Linked DNA regions of Homo sapiens: region 2 is linked to region 1. Evidence: promoter capture Hi-C in 16 types of primary human blood cells and fetal thymus (Javierre and others, 2016). All regions are on one chromosome and are shown on one strand. The core of a region is centred on a gene start or on the middle of the fragment in contact, and the rest is flanking DNA. Distances in the headings are between cores, read along the strand shown. Region 1 holds the start of ADRM1 (ADRM1 26S proteasome ubiquitin receptor). Region 2 overlaps LSM14B (LSM family member 14B).

What was found. The method cuts DNA at HindIII sites, captures the fragments that hold promoters and counts their contacts. A CHiCAGO score of 5 or more calls a contact.
Region 2: a fragment that was not itself captured here is called in contact with the fragment with the promoter of ADRM1 in region 1 in 1 of 17 cell types (neutrophils); the score reaches 5.8 in neutrophils.

Annotation. Positions count from the first base shown.
Region 1 is chr20:62,298,188-62,305,911 of GRCh38, reverse strand. It overlaps ADRM1 (ADRM1 26S proteasome ubiquitin receptor), which reads right to left and starts at 2,915. Exons shown (of 10, transcript NM_007002.4): 1 at 2,863-2,915; 2 at 2,131-2,344; 3 at 1,335-1,451. The coding sequence starts at 2,343. RefSeq lists an enhancer at 1-126 and silencers at 2,806-3,265, 3,286-3,405. The HindIII fragment of the contact is 19,122 bases long and covers 1-7,724 here.
Region 2 is chr20:62,126,034-62,133,757 of GRCh38, reverse strand. It overlaps LSM14B (LSM family member 14B), which reads right to left. Exons shown (of 9, transcript NM_144703.3): 3 at 7,319-7,454; 4 at 3,806-3,973; 5 at 3,462-3,539; 6 at 3,067-3,228; 7 at 2,252-2,402; 8 at 283-468. The coding sequence ends at 297. Among named protein-coding and RNA genes, the nearest start is that of LSM14B, 7.4 kb to the right of the region's middle. The HindIII fragment of the contact is 6,993 bases long and covers 1-6,253 here.

The DNA.
Region 1 (7,724 bases), core at 1,666-4,165:
CTTAGCTGCTGCCAGACCAAGCCCTCTCACCCTCCTGCCCTCTGGGGTGCGGTTCTTTACACACCCGTCTCCTTCCTTCAACCAGTGGAAGGCAGCGAACTGGCCCGCTCAGCACACCGCGGCCCAGGGCCACGGCAGGCGCTCACAATCGAGCACACGCGTGTGCACACACATGTGCACAGATCAGTGTCAGAAGCATCGACCTGCGAGCTCACAGAGCTGGGAGCAGAGCACCCACGCACACCCCGAATGGCTATGGAAGCTGCAGGGCGCCAGGGACACTGGGAGTCCCTGCTCTCATGGCAAAGCAGGGACGGGGGACTTAAAAGCCACCAACAGGAAAATCGGGGAAAAAAGGGAGATGGTGGTAACAGTTGGACACTATTTCTTGGCAAAACCGTGGAAAAACACGTTCTACACCAGCAGGTGGCAAATTGTGGCCGCCATCTGTGTTTGCAAATAAAGTTTAACTGGAGTTTGGCTATGCCTGTTCATTTTCTCAGGCCGCTGCACACTACTTGCACAGGTGACCAGCAACACAGACCATGTGCTCCACAGAGACCTCAGCCAGGGCCACCCCTGCTCTTGAAAGTGCCAAGGGGGGTGGGGTGGGGACAGCAGCTCCACCTCTGGCAGAGAGCATGGCCTTCTCTCTCCACACTGCAAACGCATGCACACGCTTCCTGACCACAGGCCCGCCACCAGTTTTCACCTACAGATGATACTGGCTTATGGAAAATGATCTGTGTACCGGGAAATTCTTTGCAACACTGCCTGTAACAGCACAAAAAACGGCAACAAGCTCAATGGTCACTGACAGATGGCAGAATGAGCAGCGGCCTCTAGACCCAAAAGACGCTCTGCAGCTGTGGGTAAGAGAAACCCTGGGCACTGACACCCCTGGCCTCCAGGACACACTGCCAGGGAAGGGGCAGGACTGTGGAAAGTGTGAGCAGGATGCTTCGTTTCTGTGAGCACCAGCAGGGAAGCCACACAGGGGCCTCTGCCTCTGCTGTGGGGGCCTCAGTGACCCACGGCAAGGGGCAGAGAGAGGGCACTGGGCATCGTTAGAACCAGGGCCAGCATGTCTGTCTGCCTGGAAATTTCACACCGCAATCGGTTGCCCGCAGCCCAGCCTGGAGCCTCCGTACTCTGGGAGAGGACCTCGGCCCCAGGTAGCATGCACCGCAGCCCTGAGGTGGCATCTCAGGCCGTGTGGCCGGGTGTGGCCGGCGCCTGCTGGTTTATAAAAGCCAATTGCACCACACTGTAAGCAAGTTCCTAACCGAATCGCAGGGCAACAAAAAGGCACAACCCCAAGGCCTGCCCCATACCTGCATCCAGAAGAAAAGCCGCTTGGACCCTGCCTTGAACTTCAGCACGTAGACCCTCCCGCTGGGGCACTGCGGCACCCGCTTGAACTCACAGTCGTCAGGGAAGATGATCAAGTCCTGGCAAGCCAGGGGAAGAGAGAGTCAGTGGCGCAGATGGCATCACTGTGCCCAGTCTCAGGAGAGCGTACTGAGCCCTGGGTCTAACCGGGTGGGGTGCGCAAGGGGCAGCTAAGCCGCCAGACCCCTCGCTGGCAGGGTCTCCACAAGGCAGAGAAGCCAGGGTCAGAGACAGCCCATGAAAGGCAAGGCCGGGGGAGAGAGCAGGGAAAGGGGCCTTTCAGATGGCAACGGGGTTTCTGAGACGTGCTGGAAACAACATTCCCAGAGTAGTTAAAAAGTCAACGCTGAACTGCTCTCAAATGTAACAAAGAACAACTAAGAGTTTGAAAAACAAAGAAGACTGAGTGAAGCCGCCAGGCACAGAGCTCCAGGCTCTCCAGGGCCACACCTCCAACCCCAGGCACCTCACACGGACAGTTCAAGGCCAGGCACAGAGCTCCGGGCTCTCCAGGGCCACACCTCCAACCCAGGCACCTCACACGGACAGTTCAAGATACACAGTGGCCGAGATGCCCCTGTCACCGCGGAAACCAGGACGACCCATCAGCAGGGCAGTCGATGACGGCCCCACGAGCGGTCCCCAGATGCGGCCAAGCCCCCACCGCGAACTCCAAAGCGAGGACTCCGAGGGCCCGAGAAGTCGCCTGTCCTGCTGCTGCGGCTCAGGGACACTCACGTCTTCCACGTTCCCGGACGTCCTGTCCTTCCAGCAGAAGTGAATAAGCGAGTCGTCCGTCTGCTGAATGTACACCAGCCCTTTCCGCTTATCCGGAGTCACGGTGGTCCCCTTCAGGGACATCTTTCCCGCCCGAAACTCCACCAAGTACTTGTTGGAGGCGCCCCGAGAGCCTGGCACCAGGCTTGGAAAGAGCGCGCCTGAGGTCGTCATCCTGAAAGCGCGGAGAGGACGCTGAGACGCGGCGGTCACTGTCGCCTGCGGTCCGGCAAGCTCCCGCCCCCTGGGGTGTTTGCGAGCAGGGGGCCTGCGCCCAGAGCTGCCTAAGGCAGACTCAGACACGCCGGGCTGCCTTTCCGCGTTTGCCCCGCTCACGACGATCGCACCGCCCGCACTCGGCGCTGGGCCGGGGCAGCCCCGCCAAGCCTAGTGGGGCCGGCCCTAGGCTTGACGCCGTCTCCGCGGGGCACCAGCCTCGACGCGCCACCCCGGCGACCCGCTCCGCGGGGCAGACCCGCCCGAGCTCCCGCCGAGCCCCACGTTCAGAGCCGCAGGCGGAACCGGGGCGGCGCCCGAGACCCCAGAACCCCCGCCCGGCCCGGCCCCCGCAGGCCCCACCCGCCGCGCCGGCCACCTTCTCGTCTTGGCTGCCCCCGCCCCATCCTTGGTCCAGCAGCCCCTGCCCCCGCCTCCGGTCGCCCCCGGCCGCCCCAGGCCCGGCGACTCCCGCACCTGCCTCGCGCCCACACTCGTTCGAGAGGCGCCGTCCGGGCTCGCTCTTCCTCCTCGGCGCCTGCCGGGCCCCGCCGGAAACCCGCGTTCGGCCCGCCCCGCCTGCCGCTCTCGCCGCCGATTGAGCCCCGTAAGCCGCGCAGCCGGCTCTAACCTGCCAACGATTGGCGAGGGCGACCGTCCATCGCACTCGCTCCTCCCCGGTCCGCCCCCGCGCCGGCGGCTCTTTTCCGGCGGAAGCGCGGGCCGCAGGGCGCTTGGACCAGAGCGGCCCCTATTGTTGCTGTGTCATAGGGGAGCGGCGGCGGCCCCTAGAGGCGGCGCCAGGGACCACAGGCGGGTTTCAGAGGGGCGCTGGGGAACTGCTCAGGTGGGGCCGAGCCCACCCCTCGGCGTCGCCCGCCCGGGCGGGCAGAGCTGTCACTCGTGTGGCTGAGCCAGGGGTTAGGCGGAGGCCGAGGAGTGCGGTCCGGCTGTGGGCGGCGGGCACCAGGGCTACGCATAGAAGTGACCATGGGTTCAGCGCTTTGGGGACCCAGGCGGGAGCTGGAGTCCACGCGTCCGGGAGAGCAGGGGTCCGGGAGGGTAGAGCGAGGGTGAGAACCGTGATATGGTCTCAGCTGTATACATCTAGTCCCGCAGGGGTCCGGGAGGGCAGGGGTCAGGAAGGGGTGGGTCCGGGAGGAGAGGGGTCCCGAGAGGGGAGGGGCTCCTGGAGGGGAGGGATCTGGGAGGGGTGAGTCCGGGAGGGGAGGGGTTCCCGGAGGGGAGGGGGCCCGGGAGGGGAGAGGGTCCCGGAGGGGAGGGATCTGGGAGGGGTGAGTCCGGGAGGGAGGAGTCAGGGAAGGCCTGAGTCCCAGACGGGTAGGGTCCTGGAAGGGAGGGGTCCTGGAGGGCAGGGGCTCACCCTCTGGACGCCTGGATGGGAAAGGCCACAGGGTAAAAAGGCGGCAGTCGCCCGCCAGTGTTGTGTAACTTTGAGTCACTTTGACACAAACTAAAGCGAAGACAACAGATAGTGTTTGTGGCGCCCCAGCCGGCTGCTGAAGGGACACGTTCTTTGGGATTTGCCTACAGCGACGCCAGGCGGGGGCTCTTAGAGGGCTCAGGCGCGGTGGCTCACGCCTGTAAACCCAGAACTTTGGGAGGCCGAGGCGGGCGGATTACTTGAGGCCAGGAGTTCAAGACCAGCCTGGGCAACATGGTGAATGAAACCCCGACTCTACTAAAAATGCAAAAATTAGCCAGGTATGCTGGCACATGCCTGTAATTCCATCTACTCAGGAGGCTGATGCACGAGAATCGCCTGAACCCGGGAGGTGGAGGTTGCAGTGAGCCGAGATTGCACCACTGCACTCCAGCCTGGGCGACAGAGGAAGACTCCTTCTCAAAAAAAAAAAATAATAATAATAATAGTAATAAAATAGAGAGGTCAGGCGCTTCGTGAGAACCCTGAGGTGCAGTGGCCTCTGCACCCCAGTTAAGCAAGACTAGATGTTTGCAGCTGAGACTGTGCCAGGGTCCTCAGGTTCTCCTTTGCCCATCGCTCACTTCCTTCTTTCCTTCAGATACTTCACTCCCTTCGGGCGCTCCCCGGGGTCACCGTGTGCTTGGTGGCTCACCCTCAGAGTGGATGCACAGCTGTGTGCTTACGTGCTCTCTGAGGTCTTTAGGTGTGTGTTTTCACTCACCCTTGTTGGGAGATGCGTTGGTGTTGATGCTGGCAGCTCCAGTCCTTTCATTCTGCAGGGAGCCTACTACTCAGGCCTCCATTGTCTCGGTGGCAGAGCTTGTGCCAGTTATGTTTAGTTGCCAGCTTTTGACTGTCATAATGCTTCCATTTGAAACATTGATTGAGCTAAAGATTCACGTTTTTTGTTTTGGAAAATGTAGCCACTTTTCATTTTAAAATGTGTGTTAACAGGTAGTAAGTTTGTTATTGTTATTTTTATGTAGCTAAATAATTTTAAATGTCCTCTTAATTCCTAGTATGGTAAATGTCAATAGATAAAGCTCACATAAACAAAAGCTCTTTGGGGTCCTGTATAATTTTTAAGAATTTAAACGGTTCCAGAAGCTAAAGGGCTTGAGAGGGGCTAACACAAAGCTCTGTGGCCCGCTGGTGACAGGTGCGTCACTGATACTGCAGCCCCATCCTCGTGCCCTCGTGTAAAACAGGGAAAAGGTGGAAATGAGAAAACCCAGCCTGGCTTTCCCGGCAAGAAGGTGGCAAGCGTCACTTGTTTATGTCACAGACAGTAAAGCAGAAGCCCCAGGGTCCGCAGGGGCCAAGTGTGCAGAGGCCAACGCAGTGGCCAAGAGGACCCTGGATTTACCATTTCCTCCACTTCCTGGAGGCCCTGTGGCCTGGGATGGCTCAAACAACCCCAGAACTCTTTACCCACACTTCAAGCGAAACTCCCACATTCCTATGAGCATGCTGCAGTGAGGAAACGAGCCGCAGCCAGGCAGGCTTTGCAGAGGCCACTGTGGGTGCCCGCTGCCAGCCCACGGGCTCTATGCGTGTGTGGGGTATGGCACCTGGAGCACCCAGCAGCCCAGGACTCCAGCTGTGGCCACAGAGTGGGTGGGGGGGCACACGCTGCTTTGTGTCAGGAATCTCGGACTTGAAGCACACACAAGGTCAGAAGGGCTGTGTGACATGTGCAGCTGTCCCTATCTTCTAATTGGTCGCTGATGGCAGTTGGTGGGACGTCTGCAAAATGCCCGCAGCATCTAGAGGAGCAGCCTCACCGGGACACGCGCATTCAGCTAAAGGATTTGGACTAAGAGATCCCCCAAAAGAGATTTCTATTCATCCTGTTTAGCAAAAAAAAAACAACCCCAGACTTGCATGATGGCTCACACCTGCAATCCCAGCACTTTGGGAGGCCGAGCTGAGAGGGTCCCTTGAAGCCCAGGAGTTCCAAGACCAGCTTAATCAAGACAGTGAGACCCTGTCTTTAGAAAAAGACAAATTAAAAAAGAGCCAGCCATGGCGGTGCATGCCTGTAGTCTCAGCTACTTGGGAGGCTGAGGTGAAGGTCAAGGCTGGCGGTGAGCCGTGATGGCACCACTGCACTGCAGCCTGGGTGACAGAGCGAGACCCTGTCTCAAAAAAGCCCCAAACTGTAAAGAAAGCACACCCTGATGCTCTCCACGTGCTGCAGGCTCCTCGGGTGAAAGGTGGGCGGCAGAGCCCAGGCTGCGCCTCCACGTGGGCAGAAGACACCTCCGGATGTTTCACCAAAGAGGTCACAGGCAGCAAAGGCACCATGGCAAGCTGCTCAACACCATTATTCATGAGGGAAATGCAAATGAAATACACCTGCTGGAACTTAGCAAACGATGGAAGGTGCCAGGCAAAGTTGGAAACACCAATGGCACGGCTACTTCGGAAAAGCATTTGGCAGGGGTAGGGTTTTTTAAACTTTTTTTTTTTTTTTTTTTTTTTTGAGATGGAATCTCACTCTATCCCATAGGCTGGAGTGCAGTGGCTTGATCTCAGCTCATTGCAGCCCCCGCCTCCTGAGTTCAAGCAGTTCTCCTACCTCAGCCTCCTGAGTAGCTGGGATTACAGGCATGTGTCACCAGACCCGGTTAATTTTTGTATTTTTATTAGAGACAGGGTTTCACCATGTGGGCCAGGTTGGTCTCGAACTCCTGAGCTTGAGCGATCCACCCGCCTCAACCTCCCAAAGGCTGGGATTACAGGTGTGAGCCACTGCACCTTGTGGGTTTTTTTTTTTTTTAACATTTTAAAAATAGACAAGTCACAACTGAGTGGAAGGCAGAGAGTTCTGGTCCCCCTGGGTGTTCGGTGAGCTACGCCGCCACCGGGTCAGCGCCCAGAGCCCGCCATTCGCGTCGAGGTCCACGTCGGTCCATCTGTGCTGCCACCACTGACCAGGCAGTTTACAAAGAAGCGAAACGTACTTTCTCACAGTTCTGCAGGTCCGGAAGTCAGCGTCAGTGGGGCGGCAGGCCTGGTTGTCTGGTGAGCGCTGTCCTCACCTGGCGTGGCACTGATGCTCTGTGGGGCAGACCAGGCAGTGTGGGAGGAGCCTCTGGCTCCGGGCTCAGGCAATGGTGGTGGAGCCCCACAGCCAAACCCCTGGAGCATTCCGAGAGCATGGACGTCTTGTGGACCGTGTGTCCCTCTGCCCCAGCCACACTGACCACTGGGACGACTGAGTCTGCTCAGCTTACGCTCCTGAAAAGCACGAAGGTGCTGGGGCAACTTACGGCAGAAGGCAGGCAGCTGAAACCTGGGGCACCGGGCCCTTCGCTGCTTCTAGCAGTAGCGTCCCCCCGCCAGGGGAGGGGGGTCCATCAGAGCCTCCTGCTGCTTGGAGAACCTGGGTGCTCCACCCATCACATGTGCCGCCCGACAGGTGTCACGAGTGTCCCCCAGCCCCCTCTCCACAGGGCAGTTTTTGGAAATGAGCCATTTGCTTGGCCAATCCTCAGGAACACGCGGTCCAAACTTCTGATAACCAGGCATGAGGACTCATCCTTAGCAGATTTGTAGCCCTTTTCAAAATGGCCAGAGCGGCTGAGATGGTGAAAAATTGCTCAGTGTAAAACAAAGGTCACCTGCTGCCCATCTTCAGAGAATCTTCATTCAAATCTTAGAGGTTAACATTTATTTTCACAGATGTGTACACAGCCCTCTGAAAAATCTGAGGATGACTGTGTTAATGCAGTTTGGCACTGACAGTTGTTAAATATTATAAAATAAGTGCGTTCTGCTGGCATCTTTTCTCAGCTGCCATGTCCTTGCTGCCTGCTGGGATGAATGGCACTGGAGGAGGAGCTGGGTGAAGGCACGGGGAGGGGTGAGGGCCTGCAAGGTGTGGGCG
Region 2 (7,724 bases), core at 1,508-4,007, 170 kb after region 1:
TGAGCCCCCAGCCCACGCGACTCCCGCACCACCTCACCTCCCATACCTGCAATCTCACTTGGAGGATGCTGGGGCCTGGATCCTACCCCCACAGATGCAGGTTGAAGTTGGCCAAGAGCCTCCCGGGTGACTCATAGGGTCGAGGCCCTCGGTTTGGCTTTGACACCTCTGGGCCTCTCTTCTTCCTGGGAAACCGAGCCTGCTCCCCACCTTCCTAAGCTCTCCAGGTGTGCCTGACCCTACACCCTCCCACCAAAGCGTCCAGAAGGTTCATCCACTCACCTTTGGCTGCACCCTCACACCCTGCCAGTCCCGGCCCTGTGGGAAGTGGGGTTGCGACGGGTGGTCCCATTGCCCCTGCCTCCTCGGAATCCGCCCCGAGAACTGCGGCCACGAAGAAACCTCCCTGACACCCCAAAGGTCTCTGTGTTGAGCTTCCTCTCTTCGGCCCACGTCGTCCGCCTGGAGCTAAACCACAGAGGAAATGCTGATTGTAGCAGGCACTGACTCCCAGGCTTCTGGCCAGGCCTCGTCCTCAGAGCGGCCCAGGGAAGGAGGGACAGACTCACCAGGGCCACTACAGGGAAGGGGCGGCCCCGTCAGCTCTGGAGCCCAGCTCCGGCACTGCAGGTGCTCCCTGCCACGTTTCCAACCAGGACTGTCTCCACAGTGGGCCGGGGATCGGGATCCATCTCTACCATCTCTGGCACCACAGGCAAGCAGTGATACTAGTTGGCTACCAAGGCAGCCGCTGTTGCTCGCTGGGCACAGAGAGGAGCCCTGGGGAGGCCCAGGGGCCCAGGAGACCTGAGACCGGACCATGAAGTGGACCCTCCTAGACAAGGAGGAGGCTAGGATAGATGGAACAAGTTCCCTGGAATGTGATGCTTCTGCTTTGGGAGTTTGAAAGACAGGGATACAGCATGGACACTCATGCCACCCAAACAAGCTGCTGGTGGGAGACTATCTCCCACATCCAACTGTGCACCCAGCACTCCCACCCAGCACTCCTACCGACGCAGACAACAGCTCCAGCAGCACACCCACCCTGAGCTCCTCTTCAGCCGGAAACCTGCTGCTCCCACAGACTTCCGTGTTCAAAGAAACAGCAACTCCACCCATCAGCCGCCCAGGCCAAAAGACTTAGGAGTCATTCTGGACTCTTCTCTTGTCATGTTGGCCAATTCTGTTAGCGCCACCTTCAAGACACATTTAGACTCTACTCCTTCCCTCTGTCACCACCACTGCCTGGTTCCAAGCCACCTGTGCTGCAGCACTGGCCCCTAACTGGCCAGTCAGCAGCCACACTTGCCCACCGTCCAACCACTCTCACCAAGGACGCCGTAAAACATCAGACCGCACCACGCTTCAGCACAAAACCCTCTGATGGCTTCCCGCGGCACTTGGAACAAAAGCCAAAGTCACTGCCATGCCCTACAAAACCCTACAGGAACCCATCCCCCAGACTCGGCCTGTCTGGAAGCACTTCCCGCACTCATCTGCGCAGCCTGCTCTGCCTGTGAGAACTGATCATCCACTTCCCATCGAGTTACAGCCCCATCCCATCGCCCTCACTGCCTGGCCTTCACGACATGCTGTTCTATTTTTCCCCTGGCAGAACATGAACCTGAAGAGGTGGCGCTCTCCAGCCTGCCTTCTGAGGCCCCCTCAACGCCCCGCGGCATGTCTGGCGCTCAATCTGCAGGACAAATGGGCCCAAGTTTCCAAGCCAGGCCCACACTGTAGATGCCACCCACTCCCTAGGGTGCTTCGCGGGACTTCTGACCAGCTGTTAGGTGTGAAAAATAAAACACACCACATGGTCCCTGGCCTCAAACAATGAAGTGAAGGAAAGCCAGTGTGAGCACGTTCTAGCCATACCTCAGGCTGCTAAGCAAGGACCTCAGGCTGCCAGGCCAGCGGGACCAGCAAGCAGAGCACCGTGAGGTATGCTGAATGTGGACACGGGTCTGCCGGGGGGGGCGGTGCAGCCCAGCCTTTGTGGGGACAGGGCAGCAAAGCCAAGAGGAAACAGGCTCGACCTCAGCCAACTCCTCGGGTCGGGATCCCCAAGAGGCTTCCCACACGCAACCTGCTGGGACTCCGGCACCCATCATGCAGAAACGCAAGCAGGACCCTAGAACAGCTACCCTGAGCCTCAGAGTCCAGCTCTGCCCTCAGGTTGAGAGCCCTCAGCCCTGTCCTTTCTAGATTGGAGGACTGTCCTCCCCTCATTCATTCAGCCTCTCACCTGGTCTTGAGTTCAGAAGAGATGTTGTCGAAGAACGACTTGGATTTGTCATAGTAGCAGTTGGGCCCCAGAAGGTCTTCCTCAGCGGGCGCTTCGGCACTCTGGGTCACCACAGCCAGGTCCTTCTCTTCCCCCTTCTCAGCCTTGTCATCTACAAAAAGAAGCAGAACACGTGGAGATGGAGGAGGGGCAGAGCGCACAGCCTTTTAGCAGGGTGGTCCCTCCGGGCTCACTCGGAAGCCACCCTCAAGCTAAGACATCAACTATGCCTTGTGCAAAGCAGAAATCTCTTCTTCTACCTTCTAAGTACAGGTCTCGTTCTGCCGTCTGGGCTGTGCAGTCTGCACCTTATCCCACCCATTTTCACACCTCCCAGCACCTCACTTCATTAATTCCTCACTGCCGGTCACCATCCGCCTGGCATCCCCGGTTCCTCTAGGCATCTCTTCCTTTTCCTTGAGACAGAGTCTTGCTCTATCGCCCGGCTGGAGTGCAGTGGCGCAATCTTGGCTCACTCCCACTGCAACCTCCACCTCCTGGGTTCAAACGATTCTCCTGTCTCAGTCTCCCGAGTAGCTGGGATTACAGGCGCCCACCACCACGCCTGGCTAATTTTTGGATTTTTAGTACAGATGGGGTTTCATTGTGTTGGCCAGGCTGGTGTTGAACTCCTGACCTCAGGTGATCCACCCACCTCAGCCTCCCAAAGTGCTGAGATTACAGGCGTGAACCACCACACCCGGCCAGGCATCTCCTCCTAACACTCTCTAGGGGTACTCCTGTGCAGAGAATAATTTTCATATAATGAGCCAAACCTTTAAAATTCAGTTTCTTCTTAAATTCTTTGTCAAGCTCCTCTCGGTTGAACTGGGCATTTGCACTCTCGAAATCAAAGTCACCCTCAAATTTGATTGTGTTTTCCTTAACGTTAGTTGGACGGTTTTGCCCTCTGGAGCGATTCCTTGTTCGCCTGTTTCCTGTGAGGACAAAGGACAGCCCTGGCTGAAGTAGGTCACCAACCCAGTGATCTCAAACACCTCACAAGGAATTTCCAGGCACACCCCCAAGGCCACAGAAGGAACAGAGCACACAAGCAGCGACTTCACACCAGCACCCCTGAAACCGTCAACCAGAGAAGCAGGCAGGAGGGCAAGCAGAGCTCAGCCTGATCACTCGTGGTCCCCAGAAATCAAGTGGCAACAGGTGTTACCTGATCGCCTCCTCTGAGGTCTTCTGTTCTCGTCATTCACCTGCCCTTGAGCTTGCACAGCTGCCGGCTGGACTACATCTACGGCGCAAAAGGGAAGAGTAAGGCAAAGCTCCTATAGCAGCCGGAAGCCAGAACCCAGCTGTGGAAGCAGGCCCCACCACCATGGGGCACGCGGCCAGGGCGGCACCGCAGGAGGCTGCTGCACAGGCCTGCCCTGCAAAAGCACATGGGGCTTAGGATGGGGGAGTAGTATTTTTTTAATTAAAAAAAAAAAAATAGCCCAGGAAGTAGTGTGCCACTTTTAGAACATCAAGCAAACTCCAGGAAATGATGTGTTCAAGTACCGCTGGCCGTCTTGCTGCTCGGCTGGGCCTGACGACCGTTGAGCTGCGTCCCTGTGGTGCCCTTGCCAGGTAACAGCTTTTTAGCATTCAGGTTGTCAGCAGAACCAGTCTGCACAGCCTGCTCCACCATGGGGCTCTTGCCGACTGGGATGGATGGAAAACCAGCTCCTGAATTGAGGAGGGGAGGAGGGTTTAAAAACAGAGAGAAAAGAAGCAAGCCTTATATCTCCAGGCATTTCTCTTCTGCTGGCATGTCAGGAAGGAAAGGAGGGCAACTGCCTAGATGTTCTATCAAATCCAGGCAAAGCACCCCCAGACTGGGCCATTCCCTCTGAGGCTAGCCCAGGCAGCAAAAGAAGGCCAAGAGTCACTGGGCAGCACCAAGGCCAGTTCATCTTTGGACTCCCCACTCCCAAAGCCCTGAGCTTCCCAAGTTAGGGAACCTCAAGGACAGGAAAAACACCGTGCCTACAAACAGGCACCTCCCCAGAAGTGTGGAAACAGCTTTCTTAAAACCACACAAGCTCCAATCCCAAAGGAGCTCAGCAGCCCCAAGATCCTGATGAATTCAGGATCTGAGAATTTGTTTCATTCTGGTCCACACTGGAGAAGAACCAGCCCAGCCTGGGATTTTCTAGAAAATGCAGTGAACAAATTCTGAAGTTAAATTCTACAACACTGTCATTTCCACTTAAGGCACAATAAAACTAAAAATGATGAAGCAGGAGCTGACTTCCGAGACGTAGCAGCCTACACTTCTCTCAAGGGCAAAGGCTCATCATGAAGACACAAAGGGCTCCTAGGTAGCCTTTGGCAAGGGGCTATGCCTATGAAACTGCAGTCCGAGGCCCACGCACAGGGGATGAACCCTCAGAAACCAGGCCCTCTGAATCAGGAGGAAAATGGGAAGCACCACCCACCTCTCTCCATCTCCTCCCTTTCCAAGGTTCCAGGACCTGTAGGGACTCTAAACAGGACAATGTGGGACTGGGTGTAAGTGAACAGAGATCTGAAACAGAAAAGGCACCCTAACCACAGGGTAATTATTATTAGACGAACAGCCCAATACACATGAAGACTGGGCATCTCATCTTACTGCTTTTACGGAATAGAAATGAAAAAAAAAATTGACTGTAGAAAAATTCCTTGTAACCAGATCAAGAGAAGCTCTCAAAGGGCAGGTTGGAACGACTCTGCATAGAGGTCTGGAAAGTGTCCTCTGGCGGGAATGCACCCGGGCCACTTTCTCACTGATTGTCTCACTCAGCATGTCCGGGAGACAAACACAGCACTGCCTGCCTGCTGATCATACTGTGACTGCAGGGGCATGGATAAGGGGCTTGTCTGCTTTTTACACAACCAACTAGTTCAAACAAAGTCTTGCCCTATGAGCAGGTTTAGGTAACTGATCCTAAGAGCAATAGAAGTATCTGTGTCATTTTTAAGTGGGGGAAAAAAAAAGACTACTCTGTAACTCAGATACACAGAGTGCATGCAGGATTTGGAAAGCAGCACCTGCAGAATGACAGACTGACAGCAGCTGTGTGCCATAAGGAAAGCCCAGGCATCAACCTGGACCAGGGCCGGGTAATGGCGATGGTTCAGCTTGTCAGGGTGCTATGTGTAACACAAACATACAGCAAGATCGTCAATATGAATTTTAGAACTTCAGGGGAAATGAGTAGAACGTGAGAAAAGATCTAGAAACCCCACAGGTGCCGCCACCACCACAGCACAGAGACAGGTGGTGTACACTGGCCAGCTGGCCATCAGGCTGATACTGTCCACCTGGCCAAACAGTTGGCGACTGTCACCCAAGCCCCTAATTTTGAATCCCCTCAATGAGTGATCTATGAACCACACGGATCAAAGAGCAAAACAGGCATGTCAGGTGCTTTGGGGAGTCCCCCCTGCAGCACTCTGGAACACATTTAGGACCCAGCAAAAACCCCAGGGAAATGACTTTCTGTGAACAGTGAAGTTTCCCGTATGTGGTAGTCATGGTACAGGTCAACAGAGAACCTGGACCCAGGGAGAGAGAACAAACTACTCCGCTGATTCTTCGTAATCCCTTCTTTAACACTGAGAGTTCATCAATCAGGACTACATGCTGAAGCAAAACAAGCAGCTCAGCGGCTGCATGGGCTTGGCAAATGATCTGCTACAGCTACTGTCATTCTGTCTGCTGCTTTACCCCTCGCTCTCAGAATGGTTTGCAAGACAGCATGCAGTTCTCCCAAACTGCTGTTACCCTTGGCAGTGAGCTGCTGTGGCTCTGAGGACAAGTCAAGCTCTGAAACGGGCTGTGGAGATGGAGAAGAGCTAGGGCTGGAAGCAGCGGCTGAGGCTGGAGGGCTTACCAACTTCTCTAAAGGAAGATAAAGGAGAAAGAGCAAAAAGAAAGCACACAAATAAGTCAGGATACACTTGTCTTGTGTCTAGCAAGCTTGGAAAGAGCCAAGCAACCTCTTGTAGGATTCTGTCATACAAACACGTTTTAGAAACCCAGAGAGCTGGGCTGGGAAGGCCGCCTGTCACACTAGGAATAGCAACCAAGCAAGCATGATTTGTAGCAGCAAGTGGCCTACAGACCTCGTTTAGGGTTCCCTGTCTCACTACTTCATGCTGGATTCTGAGCAAGGGTCGTGGATCACCTGCCAATTCTACACTCTGAGCCCATCTGCAAAGCTAGGTCCAGGTTAAGGACAAGGCAGGATCTTTCTCTACATATGGAGAATAGAATCATACTCTGGGGTTTTTCAATCTTGGTTGAAACCATTTTTGAGCGAGGCACTTACAGTAGAATAAGGGACATGATGGGTGGGTTTGTATTTCACGTCTATATTTACAGGCTTATAAATGTGCAAACAGCTAGACTTCATCTGTAATACTACATATATATCAGCTATTTCTTCTTTGAAGCAGATATACCAGGACTTCCACCTATTTATTTTTTGAGACAGAGTCTCACTGTGCCGCTCAGGCTAGAGTGCAGTGGTGCAATCTCAGTTCACTGCAACCTCTGCCTCCCAGGTTTAAGCAATTCTCATGCCTCAACCCCCCAAGTAGCTGGGATTACAGGTGTGTCCCACCACACCCAGCTAATTTTTGTATTTCTAGTAGAGACAGGATTTCCCCATGTTGGCCAGGCTGGTCTCGAACTCCTGACCTTGTGATCCACCCGCCTTGGCCTCCTAAAGTGCTGGGATTACAGGAGTGAGCCACTATGCCTGGCCCAGGACTTCCACCTAGATCCGCCCTGACTCTTCGAATGAATTTTGATTTGATTCTTCTGTTCCAACACTCAGGCTGCTGCCTCTTTTACTTTCAGTTGAGTAGTTACTAAATGCTCTCACAAGCGGAAGTTGCACTGGGTAATTTACTAAGTGTGCAACAAAACAGTCTACAAGCTGAGCATGACAGGAATGCATATCCCCACCCTCAGGCTCCATCGCTCCACTCAGTGACAGTTACACGCAAGGGTAGTTTACCAGACAGAAACAGGTCACTCACCTAGACCCAGGGAGGCGGCATACTGCTGGCTGAGCAGGGAGCTGGCCGCCAGCGGGCCGTAGGGCGCCATCCCTCGGAAAGGGCTGTAAGGCACGTGCGGCTGGAAGGGCGAGGCGGAGGCAGAACCCAGGGAAGACTGAACAACGAGACATCGGGTGAGAACGGCGAAGGCCATCCCATCACCCCGCACGCCTTCATCAGGGCGCTTGTTCAGCTGGGAAACAAGCACCGTCCCATCAGCCTGCACCCTTGAGATGCTGGAGGAGCCCTTGGGGTGCAAGTTTCCAGTATGGTGAGAGCTGCCTTTTCCACAGCATTTCAGTTCCAGTTTCACCTGTCCATGTAATTCCTTTTTTTGTTTTGTTTTGTTTTTTGTTTTTTGAAAGAGTATTGCTCTGTCGCCTGG